Regions from separate parts of the Homo sapiens genome. Here region 2 is linked to region 1. The links are contacts of gene promoters, found by promoter capture Hi-C in blood cells and fetal thymus (Javierre and others, 2016). All regions are on one chromosome and are shown on one strand. The core of a region is centred on a gene start or on the middle of the fragment in contact, and the rest is flanking DNA. Distances in the headings are between cores, read along the strand shown.

Region 1 (3,924 bases), core at 764-3,263:
GAGGCAGTGATGGAATCTGGCCAGGCTTGGCTGTGCTGTGTCCCAACCATCTCCATCACCCGGCTCCCCTCCTGGTCCCTGCTGGGAATGGGGTGGTGCATGGAGAGGTGGGAGGGCTAGGGAGTGGGAGTAAGCCACCCTGATGTTAGGGTGGGGTGGGGTGGCCTCCCCTCTGGTCCTTGAGGGCTTGGGGAATAGGGAGGAGCCAATCCACACAGATGCTTCTCCTGACTATGGAATGGAACTAGGTGAGAACAAAGGCTCAGGAGTTCCCAGGGGCCCCAGCTAGTGTCCTCCCACTTGCTTCCTTTCCCTGATCCCTCACCTTGGCCAGAGGCAGGACGATGAAGGCACCCCCGCCTCCAGCCTCCACAATAATGGCCAGGAATTTGGGGTTGACGGCACAGAAGGAGCTGTCCCATGTGACCTTGGACACACGGATGTCCTCGTAGGCCTGGTCGGCCTTTGCTGCCTGCCCAAACACATGGCGGAACTTGCTTTGCCGAACCACACGTCTGCTCATAGCTGCAGGCAGAGAGGTAGGATCTCAGTGCCCAGAAATGCCTTTGGTCCTTAGTCCTGTGAGCTGCGGGAGGGAGGAGGAGTGGAGGGGTGGCTGATGAGAAGGGTTATGTGGTCAGGAGTCAGGTATAAATCCATATAGTGTCTGGTCCTAGAAGCAGGGAGCTTTCTTCAAGGTGGTCAAAGTATGGGAAAGTTATTTTGCTGTGTAAAATGCTGTTTAATGTAAGTGGCTAGGATTTGGGGCCTGAATTCTCCACAGAGACCCAGGCTGAGGGGATTGTGGAGCCTAACAGACTGAAAGCTTTCTGGACGTTGGAATGTTTTTGGGAGGAGCCTCAATGCCACACTGCCTGCACCCCCCGCCCCCACCACCGCCAGCCTTGATGAGCATCTCTTCACGGACGTGGTTGTAGCTCCCAGAGGCACCCTGTCCAGAAGCAGAAGACTTGACCATTGGATCTTGGCTTAAAGCCAGGTATGGGGCCAAGACTGCAGCCACCACAGGATACCGAACTCGCATCTCTGGAATAGTTCAGGCAGATGGGGTTTTGCCTTTTCCTAAAATTTTGCCAAGGGGGAAGTTCCTCCTGTCCACCAATCTGAGTCCTTTCTGCTACTGTTTTCATCCCATGCCTTGTGGGGGGACGGGTGGCAGCACAGAGTGAGGTGGATCCCTCTTCTCCCACTCCTTTCTGCACTGGCTTCTCCAGGAAGCCCTGATCATGGTCTTCTGGCTTTTGCCTACCATAGGCTTGTCCGGTTTCTCCTCTGGGTCCTCTGCCCTGGTTGGGCCTTCTTCCTAGTGAACTCTTCTAGGGGTGGGGTCTTCAACCCCATCCTCCACCCCTGCCCCCGCCACGGCCAAGCCAGATTTGCAGGGGTGGGGAGGGTGAGGTGCCTTTTCTCCAGCTAGGGTCTCCCTAGAGGACACACTGAGCACTCCCAAAGCCCCAGCCAGTGGCTCCTGCCCCACCCCAGCCCCAGCATCCGTGTGCCCTTCAAGGCGCGTCTGCGGCCCCGAGCCTGAGGCCCGGCCTCCCTGCACCCTTCTTCAGCCTGCTGCCCTGACACTGCGTTCTTGCGAGACGAGGTGTCTGCGCCCTCCGGGAGCGCTGGCTGCTGTCCGGCCAAATATAGACACCACGTCCTCCCCGCCCGAAACCGAATTTGGCGGCGCGGGGGGAGGAGGCGCAGACCTCTGCCCCTCAGGGACCCCGCCCGCTCCGCTGGCTGCGGTGACGGCCGGGTGTGGGGGGCTGGGTACCTGGTCCTGAGCGGGCTGCGGGGCGCTCACGCTGCGAATCCTCTGCGGAAGGGGCCCGAGTGCGTAGGGGGCCGAGGAAGGCTTCAGGGCGAAGGAGCCACCTCTCCGGGTGTCTGTAGTATCTGGGACCCGGGTGTCCAGCTCCGCACTCTGGCCGATCCTGCGGCTCTCTAGAGCCCGGCGCCGCTGCAGCCCCAGCTGCCGCTGCCATCAACCTAAGAGGGCGGGGCTAGCATAGGGGCGGGGCCAGAGCCCAAGTTGCCCCGCCCCCTCCAGCGGCGGGAAAGTCGAGCGACCCCGACTCCCCTCCCAGCTTCCGCCGGCCTCGGAGAACCATCGAAAATAAATGTGCAGCTGTGTGCTAGGTGCGCACGCTGCTTCCCTCCCTCCATGACTCCCGGGTAGGCTGGGGAGGCTCGGGTTCGCAGACCTAGAGCAGGACGCTTGGAGAGGGAACGGGCGAGGGGGCGTGCGCCCCTAGAGCGGGCAGCCGAGGGAGACCAGGTGCCTCCACCCGCATTCCAGCCTCAATCGCGCTCCCAATTTAGCTGTCCCGATCGGCCGGGACTGCGGGACTGCACTTCCAGGCCTCCCTGGGGGAAAGAGGCCCTAGAGAATGAGGACCCAGGCTGATCCTGATGTAGGGCAAGTGAGAGGGCACCCGACACAGGGTTGTGAATGTTAGTTATTGTTATGAATGGCAATAGCGATCATTTGAGAAACCTAAAATGCTGGCTGTGTGCTAGGCATTTCACCCCATTAGATGAGATTCCATGGAGCAGGGCAGGAAGCAGCTGAAAGAACAAGGGGAGGACCGAGTGTAAAGTGAACCCACCTTGACACTCCCTCCCCTCCCAGATGCAGGGGGAAGAGGCTAGCACCGGTCTCTAGTCACATTTTAGGGGTCAGAGAAGCCAACTCAGAGGCCAGACTCCTAATGTTTTCTGGGCCTTGTTTGAATTGGCGCCCGACTGTGTTCCAGGTAAGCTTCCCCCGTCTCCCCCAATATTCACAGAACTGAATGTTGACCGAGGTCAAGGAGATTAAAGATAACCTGATCAAAATACAGCCAGTGAAGACCAGCCAGTCCCGTAGCTCCAGTCTACCCAGTGTCTGCACATTGCCTGGATTTCTTCCCTTGGATCATAAGGGCATCTGGGGCCAGTTATTACTTCCCACCCTCCAGGGCACACCTGGGAGTGAGTGAATGGAACACAGCCTTCTGAAGGGCAGGAACCAGCACTGGGGAGGAAAGGGAGGGAAGGTGGTAGAAACCATGAAGGGCCCACGAGGCTCCTTTGTTTCTCAGGAAGAGTCCAGGTGGCTTGTAGGGACAGAATCAAATCAAGAGTCAGTGGCTTGTAGGGGAACAGAATAAAAAACTGTTACGAGTGCTCCAGAAATAACTCCTGGCGTAGGGGTGCTGGGGCAGGGTATGAGGGTATGTGAGTCATCTCTCTTTTACCTAAAGATTCCAGGCACATGATTAGGAGGAAAATACCTGAGTGACTCAGTTGCTCCTTTACAACAATAACCCATGCTTATGTGCTAGGCACTGGCACTAAGGGCTTTATACGTATTAATTTCATACTCTTAACAATCCTCTAGGCTGGTCGCGGGTGGCTAACGCCTGTAATCCCAGCACTTTGGGAGGCTGAGGCAGGTGGATCACCTGAGGTCAGGAGTTCGAGACCAGCCTGGCCAACATGGCAAAACCCCATCTCTACTAAAAATACAAAAATTTGCCAGGTGTGGTGATGCACACCTGTAATCCCAGCTACTCAGGAGGCTGAGACACGAGAATTGCTTGAACCTAGGAGGCAGAGGTTGCAGTGAGCTGAGATCATGCCACTGCCCTCCAGCCTGGGTGACAGAATGAGACTCTGTCTCAAATAAAACACACGCACAAAAAACCAAAAAACAATCCTCTAAGGTGGGTACTGTTGTTATCCCTATTTAACAGTTGAGGAAATGGAGCCACAAAGAGGTTAGGTGGCTTACCCATCACAACCTCAACTGGTAGTTGATGTAGCTATGATTCTTACCCACGTGGTCTGGCATCTGGTTCTTGCTTTTCAGCAGCATGCATTTCTGTCTCTCCCTGAAGGACAGTGCCACTTTATCTCACAAGTGCT
Region 2 (3,624 bases), core at 55-2,554, 210 kb after region 1:
CCCTTAAGAATCCTGCTCTTTTATCTTCTTAAGCTACACAACAAATTTAAATACAAAGTAAAGACTTTCTCAGCAGGGTCTGAATCTACTGTGAACTTTTAGAATAGATTCCCAACCACTCAAAACTCCCTAGGACTCCTACAGAAAGATGGCATGCTTTAACCCCTCTTCCTAGTTCCACAAAAATGGATCAAAAGCAGAAATGTGTGTTTTAGAGAAAAGGCTAAAGACAGTGAGAATCCCTGGAAGCAAGTGATTTGCCAAACTTTAAAGCAGAAGAGAATACACATTTTCTGGGTACCAATTCCTTAGAAAATATTAAATCAGAAGATCCCAGTTTCCAGGCCTAGAATTACATATTGCTGAATGAAATAAATCAATGGTATTTAAATCCTTTGTGAAGCTAGAACAATCTATTTTGGTAAAGCAGTTTTTGGGGAGACATTATTAACATTTCAAATACTATCAACAATTAACCTTGATCAACCTGAAGCTTTGTTCAGCAGTATAATTACAGACGTTACCTAGTATTGTGGGAAACAAAGACACACAGACATTTCCAAGCAACTAACTACATTCTGTCATTTCCTGCAAGTGACAGAACCTTTTCATTGGTGTTTGTGAAAAGCCAGCTTCAAAGCAAAACCCCAGTGGCGTTAAAGTAAGCAACCCTTCTGCTTCCATTTCCATCTCCAAATGACATTTGTAAAATTAAACCATATACATGTTTCTGTACCATTTGAGACTAGAGTCCTAAAGTCCATTAGTGTAGGCTAGACAAGTCCACATGTGACCCATGAATGGAGTGCTATTCCATGAGCCACAAAAAGTGGGTGGATCTCAGAGGGACATCTGAACCTTTCATGAGATTGTTAGACTGTAATAGTGGCTGTTTATTAAAGGCTAACAATGTGCCAGGCCTTAGTCGAAGTGCTCTGCAACCATTATCTCATTTAATCTTCACACTAATCCTCCCTCCAAGGTAGGTATACTATTTATCATTTCCATTCCTTGGATGAAGAAATTAAGACAGAAGAAAAGTAACTTAACTAGGGTCATATACATTCCTTACCACCACACCATAACACCATACTACTATTCTGCCAACTTCCCTTTTATTAAGAGCTCCATTCCCTGACAAGTGAGTTAACCAAACTAAATCACAGGGATATGAAGCCCCAACTGTCGATGGCTTGTGTGTGTGTGTGTGTGTGTCTGTACATATATATATGGAGAGAGGAGAGAGGGAAGAAGGGAGCCTGGGTTCTTCCTTCGCTGCTGTATTCACATTTCCTTGCCTGACCTCTTTCTTCAGGGTATGACTTTAGCTTCCATTTATTGTGTATACGTTACCTATCACTCATTTATTCTTCTTTTAACCAATATGTACAGAGTACCTCCTATGTGCTAGACATTGTACTGATTGCTGGGGAAATAGTTGTGCTCATATAGAAGCCCATTCTCCATAGCAAAGACAGGCAAATATTTTTAAAAAATCTCAACCTGGTCACTCCCCAGCTGAAAACTCTTCAGTGGCTTTTTGTTGTCCAAGAAATAAAGATCAAGATTTTTTTTTTTTTTTTTTTTGAGACAGAGTCTCGCTCTATCGCCCAGGCTGGAGTGCAGTGGTGCAATCTCGGTTCACTGCAAGCTCCGCCTCCTAGGTTCATGCCATTCTCCTGCCTCAGCCTCCCGAGTAGCTGGGACTACAGGTGCCCGCCACCTCACCTGGCTAATTTTTTGTATTTTTAGTAGAGATGGGGTTTCACTGTGTTAGCCAGGATGGTCTTGATCTCCTGACCTGGTGACCCTTCCGCCTCGGCCTCCCAAAGTGCTGGGATTAGAGGTGTGAGCCACCGCACCTAGCCAAGATCAAGATTTTTGACTTAGTTTATAAGGCTGCAGCATCTGGCCTTTTGCTGACTTTATCAGCACCAGCTTGAGTTATTTTCTCCCTTATTTTCTTTGTTCCAGCCTTACTGACCTTCTGTCAGTTCCTTGAATGTGCCAGTTTCCTGATCTGTAAGTTTTTAATTCGTGTCTTCCCCACCTAACTTTTCCCTGGTTGACTTCAACTCATCATTAGAGTACAACTCAAAATACCATTTCCCCAAGAAAGCTTTCCCTTGACCATGAACCTTAACATCACTTTTTCCCCCAAGCCAGGTTAGGTCCCTGATTGCTATATTCTCATAGTATTGTATACTTTCCGATTTGCAGAATTGATCATAATTTAAAATTTCACTGCATAATTAGCTGTTTAATCCCACCTTTCTCCACTAGAGTATAAGTTTCAAAGGGAAGAATCATGTTTATGGTTTATCACATGCACCACCATATCCTCAGCAACCACTGCAGTGTCTAGCACATAGGAGGTACTCAGCACATATTGGTTAAAAGAATAAATGAGTGAAAGGTAATAATATACATAAGAAATGGGAGCTAAGGACATGCCCTTAAGACATAGGGGTCAGGCAAGAAAGAGTAAATACAGTCAGTGAAGGAGTACCCAGGCCAGTTCTGCTCTCCTCTTGGTATTATGCCTGGTATAGCTGCTCCAGTCTGAGCCAGTTTAATTAGTTCAAGATAGAGATGTAGAACCAGACTAGTGGAAACCACAAATGGGAAAGGAAATGAAGCAGTAGTGCTTTAATGCATGACAATGAGAGATGGAGGCTGATCATAAGTCCTGGGCATAACTTTGCATAGTAGAATTTAAATTATTACTACACAGCAACATTACATTTGATTAACGTGCCAGTGGATTTTAATTTTTACTTGTTATATGGAGCTCATAACAGGATAAGCCATAAATTCTGGGTGCCAGAATTGTTTGATATAGTCGTGGCTGCTTTGCAGCTCACCTTTAAGGCATCTAGCAGACCCGGGTGAGGGTCTGCTACTGTTAAAGAAATTTGAGAAGGAAAAAAGCAGTTACATGTAGAAAGAAACCTCCCCCAAAGGACATTGAACACGTCTGCAGACATAACCTATACGCTACTCAGTTCCAAGGCTCTTCACAGTAGCCTGCAGAGATTCAGACTTAAATTGAGGAGGGGAAAGGTAAAAGGATGTGTGTGATAAAAACCTCTTTCTCTCCTGTATTAACTTAGGGCAAATACAGTATTTCCTATATTTTCATCTTTAAGATTACAAATAAGAGACGCTAATCTAGATGTAAGACTCCAAAGAATCCCAGCTTATTTTTAAGTCTAAAGTGAATTTTAAAAATTTTCACTGTAAGATACCAATAAAACAACTTTGACACTTCTTGCCATCTCACTACCAGAATGCAACTGTTTATCTTTTTTTTTTTTTTTTTTTAAGATGGAGTCTTGCTCTTGTTGCTCAAGTGCAATGGTGCGATTTCGGCTCACTGCAACCTCTGCCTCCTGGGTTCAAGTGATTCTTCTGCTTCAGCCTCCTGAATAGCTGGGATTACAGGCATGTGCCACCACGCCCAGCTAAGTTTTTTTTTTTTGTATTTGTGGTAGAGACGGGGTTTCGCCATGTTGGCGAGGCTGTCTCCAACTCCTGGCCTCAGGTGATCTACCAGCCTCGGCCTCCCAAAGTGCTGAGATTACAGGTGTAAGCCACTGTGCTCAGCTGCAACTGTTTATACTT

Evidence for each region. Contacts are between HindIII fragments. The CHiCAGO score rates a contact against its expected background, and 5 or more counts as called.
Region 2: a contact is called between a fragment that was not itself captured here and the fragment with the promoter of CORO6 in region 1, in 1 of 17 cell types (M2 macrophages). The highest score is 5.7, in M2 macrophages.

The regions. Positions count from the first base shown.
Region 1 is chr17:29,620,899-29,624,822 of GRCh38, forward strand. It overlaps CORO6 (coronin 6), which reads right to left and starts at 2,014. Exons shown (of 11, transcript NM_032854.4): 1 at 1,790-2,014; 2 at 326-586. The coding sequence starts at 523. RefSeq lists a silencer at 1,678-1,827 and an enhancer at 2,615-3,814. The HindIII fragment of the contact is 1,950 bases long and covers 825-2,774 here.
Region 2 is chr17:29,828,271-29,831,894 of GRCh38, forward strand. All of the region lies in intron 2 of SSH2 (slingshot protein phosphatase 2), which reads right to left. All of the region lies in intron 1 of LOC124900390 (a long non-coding RNA gene), which reads right to left. Among named protein-coding and RNA genes, the nearest start is that of SSH2, 100 kb to the right of the region's middle. The HindIII fragment of the contact is 1,626 bases long and covers 492-2,117 here.